Linked DNA regions of Homo sapiens: regions 1, 3 and 4 are each linked to region 2. Evidence: promoter capture Hi-C in human tissues and cell types (Jung and others, 2019). All regions are on one chromosome and are shown on one strand. Each heading gives the region's core, a stretch centred on a gene start or on the middle of the fragment in contact. The rest is flanking DNA. Distances are from core to core; before and after follow the strand shown.

The links. Contacts are between HindIII fragments. The study calls those that stand out against the background at their distance.
Region 1: a fragment that was not itself captured here is called in contact with the fragment with the promoter of KCNE2 in region 2 in 2 of the 25 tissues and cell types used here (dorsolateral prefrontal cortex and heart left ventricle).
Region 3: a contact is called between a fragment that was not itself captured here and the fragment with the promoter of KCNE2 in region 2, in 4 of the 25 tissues and cell types used here (H1 embryonic stem cells, lymphoblastoid cells, mesenchymal stem cells and 1 more).
Region 4: a fragment that was not itself captured here is called in contact with the fragment with the promoter of KCNE2 in region 2 in 1 of the 25 tissues and cell types used here (dorsolateral prefrontal cortex).

The regions. Positions count from the first base shown.
Region 1 is chr21:34,147,932-34,150,631 of GRCh38, reverse strand. No RefSeq gene overlaps it. Among named protein-coding and RNA genes, the nearest start is that of LINC00310, 31 kb to the left of the region's middle. The HindIII fragment of the contact is 3,436 bases long and covers 1-2,700 here.
Region 2 is chr21:34,362,698-34,365,397 of GRCh38, reverse strand. It overlaps KCNE2 (potassium voltage-gated channel subfamily E regulatory subunit 2), which reads right to left and starts at 1,392. Exons shown (of 2, transcript NM_172201.2): 1 at 1,247-1,392. The region is part of intron 2 of LOC105372791 (a long non-coding RNA gene); the gene reads left to right. The HindIII fragment of the contact is 19,800 bases long and covers 1-2,700 here.
Region 3 is chr21:34,504,152-34,506,851 of GRCh38, reverse strand. All of the region lies in intron 2 of KCNE1 (potassium voltage-gated channel subfamily E regulatory subunit 1), which reads left to right. Among named protein-coding and RNA genes, the nearest start is that of KCNE1, 6.7 kb to the left of the region's middle. The HindIII fragment of the contact is 7,108 bases long and covers 1-2,700 here.
Region 4 is chr21:34,118,884-34,121,583 of GRCh38, reverse strand. The region is part of intron 1 of MRPS6 (mitochondrial ribosomal protein S6); the gene reads right to left. Among named protein-coding and RNA genes, the nearest start is that of SLC5A3, 47 kb to the right of the region's middle. The HindIII fragment of the contact is 5,228 bases long and covers 1-2,700 here.

The sequences.
Region 1 (2,700 bases), core at 142-2,641, 210 kb after region 2:
TTACAGCGTCATGCTTGCCAGAACAGAGATTTAACCCCAAAACCATTTGGGTTAACAGAGCGGTTAACAGAGATTTCTTTAGCATTTTACTTAGCCACATTTATAAATAACTTCTTCATATTATTTTTAGATCTGGTAAGATATATGGAAGAGGAACAAGCTTTTAAAACATTTAACTGCTAACTTTATAAAATCAGCGCCTTTAAAATCCCCTGTGATTTTGCTTTGTGAATGACCCTTTGCTGGTGTTTTAAAAGTAATTAAAATGTATTTGGAGAGTATTTGAAAACTCCTGAGCTGTCATGGTGCCTGCAGAGGAGAGTTGCTATACTTACTAATTATCCCTTTCCTTGGCCTCACTAAACCCCATCCAATCTGCCTGTTCCTGAGGCTGGAAGGTAACAGGAGTACTGCATCCAGGCTCTCCTAGTACAGTCTGGCTCTTTCTGGCCACATCACCAAATTCTCTGCCAAGGTACTTTTCTAAGGGCTCCTTTCAAAGAGAAGGCCCCTTGCTCATGCAGATGTCATAGTTGCCTAGTGGACGGGAGATGGTGGAGGATGAAAGTTTGTGTGCATGAGAAGAGGAGGCAGGATGGTGGGAGACAGACAAGACAAGCAGAGTAAGAAAAATGGTGGGAATCAAACTCCCCTTTTTTGCAGGTAAAAGTTGGAGATTTACAGAAAGATGTCAAAAAGACCCTCAGCAGAAAACTAAGCAAAATTCCTGCATCAAATAGAGCCTATTCTTGTTATCTGCAGTAGTTGTGTTCTTTAAAGTTGCCATCAACACTGACTTAGAGAACCCTGAATTATCGCTCCTAGGGGAAATACAGGGTTAGGTTAGCCTTTGGTCACAACGCTTATGTCAACCCATCAATCCGTGAGCTTGTTTTATGTGTGTTTCGTTTTAAAGACGTTTACTACATACTGTTGATTAACATTGAACTCAAGGCCAATGGCACTAGAACTCATGGCTGAACAAGTTTGTCTAACAGGTATCTTCTCCAAAAGGCACATCACAGCCTTCTTGCGCTTAGAACACAGTCCTGCAGCACTACACTTGGGGGCCATTTGAAACAGCAAAAGCACCATGAAAAAGCACACAAATGCAAAAAAAAAAAATGGCACTAAATAGTGAAAAAGACACTTGTTTACAGTATGAGAGCTGGAACAAGAAGGCAGAGTGTTGCTTTGTTCGACAGGGAACAGACTTGTCAAGTGACTCAAATTCTTTGCTACTCTACACATACCCGTTGAATGACTACAAAAGTATCATGGGTATTCATTTTGAGGACATAAATTTTAGCAAGTAAGCAGACTCGCAAATATGGAATCTGCCAATAATGAGCATCCACGATACCAATTAACAGAGCCTGACACCTCTGTCAAAGTGTAATATCCAGTCTTTCACAAATAGGTGCTTAACATTTTGGTATCCGATTAGACAAAGGATGCTACATCCAAGTCACATCATTTAGCTCAATACAAGCTTTATGGAAACTACAGAGTCTCCCACTTATTTGGAATAGAGAGGTCAAGAGTCCATTTTGCATAATCCTTACTTCAGGCATTGTCTGGTGAACAATGCACCCTTGTCTCTTCCACTCACAATGGAACTGTCTCAAGGCAAATTGCTTTCTCTGAGAAATGTGACGATGCTGGTGTTCTGGAAGCAAAGGTTCAGATGCCACACCCAGACACCAGTGCTGCTCCCCTTCAGCAGCCCAGCGGACCTGAATACTTTGGGGATGAAGTTTGGTTCCATGAGTCTTTTGTTAATCTCACTGGGTTGTGGTGGCACTAGGAATGTGCAGGATTATCCAGGTCTTACTGTTGTCACTTTAGAGGTCAATTTTGGGGGTTGTGGTGTAGCTCTCAAAAAACTACCACCAATATGGACTTTTCGTTTCGACATGGTTTTCCTCCTGCGACTAACAGAATGTGTCTTGCCTGTATTTGGCTGTAAGCCATGTCCCTTAAAGCTTCATTTTCAGAGAACAAAAAGAATGCTGGCAATCTGAGCCCAGCAAATGACTGTGCTGACCTCTGGGACTCCTTTGCTGTTTTCTTGTGATTAAAGACAGGCCTATTCTGTTTAGAATGAGATTACTAGTCAGCCCCACAGAATCCAATGGCAGGTTATGAAAACAACAGCTATGCTTATCAGAACATGAAAAGAAGTGTGCAAAGAATAAGCCTCTAAGAAATTATTTTAACCCTTCCCCACCTCCATATCCTACCAACTACCAAGTTCTTTAATCACTGATGGAATAACTCTTCAGCAAACCAGGCAGTAACTCGGTCCAGGGTATTAGAGACCAGGACAGGCTCTTTGAGACCATCTGCTTCACTGGCCACATTTTCCATGTGAGGACACTTAGACCGGGAGAAGAAACTGAACATGGTCAAGGCTGGTGGGTGGAGAGTTCTCTGAGCAGTTCTCCAACCCAAAGTCCTATGATCATTCCACTACTGCATTTTTTCAAGGTGACCAAGAATCCCACAAATCGCCTTGGAAACTTCCCACCATCAACACCATACTTGTCTGTTTCCAGGTGCAGAAAACAGGCCAGGGACTGGCAGGTAGCATCACAAGGCCATTACAGGTGCCGTCATCTCTCTGCGGAGACCTCCTAACGCAAATGGCAGTAGCCCAGACCACAGCAGAGAGAGAATAATTTGTACTTTTCACACGCT
Region 2 (2,700 bases), core at 143-2,642:
AAGTAGAATATCATAATAGGCATTTACTTTAGTAATGCTAAGACAACTACCATTTATGTTCTCTGGAATTATATGAAATAGCCATTTATATAGGTTAGAAATGGTCAAATATGGGCAATTCATGTGTATCAACCTAGGAGGACCTACATTTCCAGTGAATGCTTCTTGCTGAGTCCTAGCACAGGCTGGGCCCCTGGAGATCATTTAGGCTGGTTTGCTCTCTGATAGGTGGAATAACTATAGCCTAGAGGGCTTAAGTCACCTGTCCAAGATCACAAGCCTCTCAAGTTGGCCACAGTGCCTGGACTAGAACTCACATCACCCAAGCCAGTGTCCAGCACTGACTGTCCTAGCAGAGGTCACACATTCCAATAACTCACTGTTTTCATTGCTGTGACCAGTTGGCTCAACTGGGTACAAGACATAAGATCAAGACCATGATTTGAGCTTACACATGTCATTAGTTGTGCCCTGTCTCCAGGCTACAGAATGATCCCCTAATTCCAGCCATTCCTGTCATGAATGTGTGTTATTCATGACAACAGCAATCAGGACACTATTAGGAAAGTAACACTCATTTGACCCCAAAGTCCAGAGTTTTCTTTTCTTTCTTTTTTTTTTTTTTGAGATGGAGTCTCACTCTGTCGCCCAGGCTGGAGTGCAGTGGCGTGATCTCGGCTCACTGCAAGCTCCACCTCCCGGGTTCATGCCGTTCTCCTGCCTCAGCTTCCTGAGTAGCTGGGACTACAGGCGCCAGCCACCACGCCAGGCTAATTTTTTTTGTATTTTTAGTAGAGATGGGGTTTCACTATGTTGGCCAGGCTGGTCTCGATCTCCTGACCTCAGGTGATCCGCCTGCCTCAGCCTCTCAAAGTGCTGGGATTACAGGCGTGAGCCACCGCGCCCAGCCCCAAAGTTTTCTTTTCTTGAAACATGGTAGATCGCTCACATCACCTGGGCCTATAAAAGGCAGCAAAGTCTTTCATTTTTATATCAAGAAGAGAAAACAATATGATTACCTACGTTTACCATGAATCCTCCATTTTAAAAACTCTCAAAATTTTCATTCTAAGGCAATTAACAAAGAAATGAGTAAGGAAAACACAAGAAGGAAAGAAGGAAGAGTGGATGAGGAGCCAGGCCATGTACCAGGAAAATCATTCCTTTTATCATTTTCTGGAAAAGGCACATAGATAACTTTGTTACTTAATTCCTCAAAAAATAAAGAATGTGTGCTAAGACTTACCTATGCAGTGTGTGGGCAGGATGAAATTCCTTTCCAAAGCCAGGCTGTTCTGAACCTTCTTGCTGGCGTTAGCGAGCTCTCTTCTGGGTTGCACACAAGCCTCAGCCTGCTGGGCACCTTCACCTTACAACCATCTAAGCCCTTGCAACTGCAGTCTGCAATCCTATGCTTTTATGAACCCACATGTTTAATCTAATCGTATGTGGAAAGTTAAATACTAACTGGCAGTTGGAATTCACCTTGGTGCCTGATGGGGTGTGTGCCTCAGGGACTCTGGCTTTGGGCAGAGTGGCACAAGTTCCTGCTCTGGGACCCTTCCTGCCAGCTCCAGCCAGGGCAGGGCCTGGGTACAGTGAACATCTTTCCCCAGAAGAAGTCTTCCTCTTAGGGTAGGCTTGGGGGACAACAGCATTCCCTGCCAGAATACGTGGGAAGGGCTGGGTGGGGTGGCTCACGCCTGTAATCCCAGCACTTTGGGAGGCTGAGGCGGGCAGATCACCTGAGATCAGGAGTTCAAGACCAGCCTTGCCAACATGGTGAAACCCCGTCTCTACTTAAAAATGTAAAAATTAGCCAGGTGTGGTGGCACACACCTGTAGTCCCTGCTACTCTGGAGGCTGAGGCAGGAGAATCACTTGAATCCACAAGGCAGAAGTTACAGTGAGCTGAAATCATACCACGGCACTCCAGGCTGGGTGACAGAGTGAGACTCTGTCTCAATGAAAGAAGAAAGAAGAAGAGGAAGAGGAAGAGGAAGAAGGAAGAAGAAGGAAGAAGAAGGAAGAAGAAGGAAGAAGAAGGAAGAAGAAAGAAGAAGAAAGAAGAAGAAGACGATGTGGGAAGGACAGGGCCCCAGGGAGAGGAGCCAAGAACAGCCATCTCTGGGTGGTTGGTATGGGTTGAGGGGGTCAGTATAATTCCAGGCAAGTGCCGTGTTCTGAAGACGCTAAATAAGCTAGATTCTGGTAAATACTCCTCCACGGGACCACATCCAAATGAGTTTATAACAACATTGTTGTCTTGTAAAAGAGAAACGGGCTGCAAGGGTACTAAGGTACTACATGGAGGAGCTGGAAGTTAAGTCCAACAAAGAGGTTTTGAGGTTTTTGTTTGTTGTTGTTGTTTTGAAACAGAGTCTTACTCTGTCACCCAGGCTGGAGTGCAGTGGCGCAATCATAGCTCACTACAGCTTTGAACTCTTGGGCTTGAGGGATCCTCCTGCCTCAGCCTCCCAAGTAATGGGACTACAAGTGTGTACAAAGCCTGGTTAATTTTTATTTTTATTTTTGTAGAAATAGGGTCTTGCTGTGTTGCCCAGGCTGGTCTCAAACTCTTGGCCGCAAAGGATCCTCCAGCCTCAGTCTCCTAAGGCGGTGGGATTACAGGTGTGAGCCATGGTGCCTGGCCCCCAGCAAAGTATTTAAAGACCTAGCAAGAGCTAAACATACTCTATT
Region 3 (2,700 bases), core at 162-2,661, 140 kb before region 2:
AATCCCACCAAGCAGAACTACATGTCTCTGCTCCGGGCTCCTGCAAAGCCACTGCATTCCCCAGCACAACTCTCACCAGACTGCAACAGTTGGCTTCCCTGCCCATCTCCCCAGCTAGTTTGCCAATGAGTTCAATGTATTTGTTTCTGATTTCTCAGCACCTAGCAGAATGCTTGGAATGAAATAGTCACTCAATAAATATTTATTAGATGTATTGCTTATAACTCAATTCAATTCCTTCTTCTTTAACTCTTTGTAGCTGCAGATCTCCCCTGGCAGTGCTAAGCCTGGCACTGTTGAGCAACACCAGGTCTGTCCCTTAGGTAATGGAACCTAAGGCAAAGTGGGTGACGCACATGAATATTTCACAGGGGCTCTTTTCTTGGTGGAGACAATGTAATGTGTTCACATATGGAAACTTGGGCCTGGCTTTCCCCACGTGCTGCCAGGATTGTCAGGATAGATTGGTTCTCATCCTCCATGCCCCCTGGCTGTGTTCAAATTGTGAGCTGCCTGATCTATGGGGCCAGTGGGGTTAAGCTGAAGCAAGAAACCACGGAGTGACAAGAAGACATTTCAAAGACGTGATTGGTCTAGAAACCCAGCAATTTTCCAAAAGCTTGTCCCCGTGGGATCTGTAGGGCCCAACTTGAAGAGCTGGGACAGAGGGGACATTCCTGAGTTCCCGGCCTGCAATATGGCTATAGCCACATAATTCTGAATGCACAATAGCACTTCATTCCCAAGGAATTCTCTGTAGGGACTCAAGAACAAAATAATCTCCTAATGTAGAGCATTTAACATACAAGCGCTTTTACAAGTCACCTGACAGTAGATGTCGAAGTAATTTCAAAATAATGTTCTATTTTAAAAATACTGTAGTTAAAAAACTTTTTCCCCCAGAGTCTATATTGCCTTGCTGTGTCATATAAGTTGCAATGACTTGGAGGCAGGACCTTTGCTTGTCCTGGGAGGTGGGATGACTCTAGAAGATGGCCCACGCCAGGTCTTCTTTAGGATCTAGTCTGGCCTCGTTTGAGCTACAGTAATGCATAAGGGTGTTTGTACTCACTTTATCTCCTTTTATTTCAAGCGAGGGGATCAAGTGTAGAAATCTGCGTGGGCCACTCAGGACACATCCACATGGCAACAGGAGGTGAGCAGCTTGTAGGGATTGCGGTGAGGATGAGAGGACATTTGTTTGCAGCCTGTGTCAGCTGGGCCTGCTCAGGTCTCTAAGACCTGGGCTTCAAGCCCCAATCCCACAGCTTTGGGGATGCCCTAAGCCTGGCATGATGCCCATTGATCCCTGCCTCACACTCTCCCTCCAGCCTCTGCCTCTCTTTTGGTCCACGCCTCCCAGGTAACAAAGTGTTGCTCCCTCATTGCTTTCCAAAAAAAAAAAGGTGATCAAGGTGGTCAGGCGTGGTGGCTCGCGCCTGTAATCTCAGTTCTTTGGGAGGCCGAGGCAAGTGGATCACCTGAGGTCAGGAGTTCCAGACCAGCCTGGCCAACATGGTGAAACCCCATCTCTACTAAAAATACAAAAGATTAGTCGGGTGTGGTGTCGGGTGCCTGTAATCCCAGCTACTTGGGAGGCTGAGGCAGAAGAATTGCTTGAACCCAGGAGGCGGAGGTTGCAGTGAGCCGAGATCACGCCATTGCACTCCAGCCTGGGTGACAGAGCAAGACTCTGTCTCAAAATAAATAAATAAATAGGAAAGACAGAAGATCTGTGTTCTTAGTTTTTGTTTAGTTCTTAATGCCTTAACTGAGATATAACTTGCATGTATACAATTCGCCCATTTAATGTGTATGATCAATGGTTTTTGGTCTATTCACAGATATGTGCAACCATCACTTCGGTCAGTTTTAGAACATTTTCATCACCTCCAAACAAAACTCCAAACCCTTTAGCTGTCACCTCCCATCTTCCTGCCCCTGCCCCCACCTCGCAAGCTGAGCCCTAAGTTCCCACTAATCTTCTTTCTGTTTCTATAGATTTCCCTATTCTGGACTTTCATATGAATGAATCACATAACAGGAGGTCTTTTGTGACTGGCTTCTTTCACTTAGCCTAACATACTTGAGGTTCATCCATGGTATATCAAGTATAAGTACTTCATCCCTTTTCATGACTAATATTCCATTGTCTGGATAGACCACATTGTGTCAGTTCATTCATCAGTTGATGAACATTTGGGTTTTGGCTACTATGAATAATGCTGCTATGCACATTTGTGTCCAAGTGTCCATGTGGACATGTACTTTCATTTCTCTCAGGGTATATATGTAGGAGTGGAATTGCTGAGTCCTGTGATAGCTCTGTGTTTAACATTTGGGGACCTGTTTTCCAAGGCAGCTGTACCGTTTTACATTGCCACCAGCAGCGTAGGAGTGTTCTGATCTCTCCACATCCTCCCAATACTTGTTCTCAGCCTTTTGTATTCTGGCCACCCTGGAGAGTATGAAGTGGTTTCTTATTGGGGTTTGGATTTGCATTTCCCTGATCACTAGAGATGTCAAGGATCTTTTCCTGTACTTATTGGCTATTAGGTTTGGTTTGAGAGGAAGGGTCTCATCCTGTGCAACATCCTACCTTCTCACTCTCCCAACTCCTCTTCCTCAACCTCTACCCTCTGGAATCCCTCAAACACACACCCGAGTCCAAAGTGTTCTCCCTCCACGACGGAGTGGTTG
Region 4 (2,700 bases), core at 45-2,544, 240 kb after region 2:
CTTCTACCTACCAAATGCATCAATGAAACACACTTTGGCAAGGCACAGACTGAGGGCTGAAAACATTCATTTGAAAAAAAAATACAGAAAGAAAGGAATGAATGAATGGGAATGGAAACTAGAAAAACTAGGACTATGATTCTAGTCCTAGCTCATTCACTAATGAGTTATACAAACCTGAATATGTTATTAAAATTTATCAATTTTAAACTTGTACCTCAGTTTCCTCATCTGCTAAATTAGTAGTTCTCGATTTTCCTGTTGCTACAAGCTTCACATGAATAAACAACATTCATACTGCAATTCTCAACATCTGCTGGAGGCACAACAAAGTTTGATGAAAGTCTTTTTATGCCCCCCAATTCTGATATCTTCATCACCAAAATGCACCTCCATCCCCCAGTTCTCCTGATGTCATTCTTTTTTTACTTCTAACAGCACTACAGCAATCTAAAAATATTCTTTCACTAACCAGAATGTAAGCTACAGAGGAGCAAGGACCTTTGTCTATCTTGTACATGACTGTATTCCCAACGTCTAAAATGGGCCACACTCATCGAACAGGTGCTAGAAATAGCTGTGCTAATTGTACCTCCTTTAAGAGGGTCTCTTGCTTACTTACTCCTATCTTTCCTCAAGGAACTCTAAGTTTCCTTCTATCTCTAACATAACTTGAAGCCACTTTTCATATACAACAAAGCTCACTATCAAGGTGGTAACTGTAACACTGAGGCAAAATTACAATACTAATGTTTTCCCATTTACTTCACGCAGTACCAAAATGCTGTTCACACCAATACTGTATTTCAAAAATACCTACAATTCATCTAGAAGTGAAATTAATTAAATATTTTATACATTTCAAATATCAAATTCCAATACACATATAAATATAAATGTTAAAATTACATTATAATTATTTGCTGATTAGGTAAGATAAAGTACTATCCAAAAATTTAACGAAATAGTATAATACTTATAAAAAAGGTAATTAATCCTAGAAGAAATTAAAGCTAATTTTTTATATTAATTACCAAAACTAATGTTTAGCCTACAAAAGACTTAGGGAAAACCCAAGAGCTAACTTCAAATATTTGCAGGGCTATTATGCAAAAGGTAGATTTGTTTTATTTTGATTGGATTCCAAGAGTGGACTAGAATCAAAGGGTAAAAATTAGAGAAATCAAGCTGTATTTTGTAAACAAGAACATATTTCCAAAAATATACAGCTGTATGAAAATGCAGTGGGCTGCCTTGTGAAGTAGTGACCTTCCCATCACTTGAAGTACATAAATAGATACAGGATGGCTGTTGGATTAATATCTGCATGGGTGGGAGGTTGAACTCAACAACTTCTTAAAGCCCCTACCAAGACTAAATACTACTCTGGTACCACTCATCATTCTGAAGGACATTCTGCAGTGAAGCCAGTTTTGAAAACTGCAACTGCATAGCAATGAAGAATACACGTACTGCTAGGAAAAGTTAATGCTGCTGACTAGATTCATGCTAACGTACCAGCTGTTCTACTCACTACTGTTTTCACAATGATCTTCTAAAAGGGTCCCCCGTAAAGCCCAAGAGTCCTCAAACCATATTTTGAAAACCACAGTTCTAGAGATGCTAATGGGAAAAGTTGCTGTAGTAAAAGATGAGAGCAAAAAGGTGGGAAGAATGAAAGGAAGAAAGGAATCTCTCCTTGTCCCCCAAATAAAATCCCCACTCAGGAAGGTTACTGAAGCTAAGAATTCATGGAAGTATCATAACCACCACCACTAGTCAATGACCAACGTTTAACCTAATTAAACATATTTTCATCCCAGAAGAGAAACTTGTCAACAAAATTATCTTAGAAATTAGACTCTATGGGAAAGACAGTTTTAAGCCAGTGGCCTCCAATATACCCAGCTAGCACTACCACACCCTAGTTCCCCAGAAAATAAAGCACACATAGAATCCACAACATTCAACAGCATGCAGCATCTACCTACACCCTGCCCGCCTCACGTTACAAAGAGTTATACAACACTCAAGAGCAGGCAGGACTCAGGGAAGGTAGAGCCAAGACACAGAACTGTCAAAACCTGTGAAAATGTACATGTAAAAGTCTTTCCCATTCTTTGCTGAATCTTAATTCCAAATCTTACTTCCTTTAAAAAATTTCCTTGCAATTTAAATTTTCAAATAGAAAGGCTGTCCCTGTGAATTCTGCATTGACATTCTCACAGCAATCTGAAAATCTGTGAGCCCTAACTTTTCAACAGTCAAATGGGTGTCATGGAAAGTGGCTGAAGTTCTAGCAGACCTTGGGAGAACCATCTACATAAAAATATGTGAAGTGCCAGCCTTGCCTAATGACATAAGCAAAGCCCAACTATGAAATTGATTCCACAGGAACTGTTTGATCAAATATTCTTCATTGTAGAGAACCTCTTTTGCCCAACAATTTATTGAATCAGGAGTTTCAGTCCTCTAGGTAATTAAGGAATAAAAATTATCGAACACAGAAACTACTTTTTAAATTAGAATAAAATTCAATAAGGACAAGTCTAGAACACTAAGAAACATAAAGATGCCTAAGTACATGTTCAAATGTGATTACTTACCTCTACAGGCCTGAACCTGAAGTTATAACTTGAAGTGACTAGAAAAGTAACCTTTATAGGCTTTGTAAAGGTCAAAGATAGAAAACACTTATTA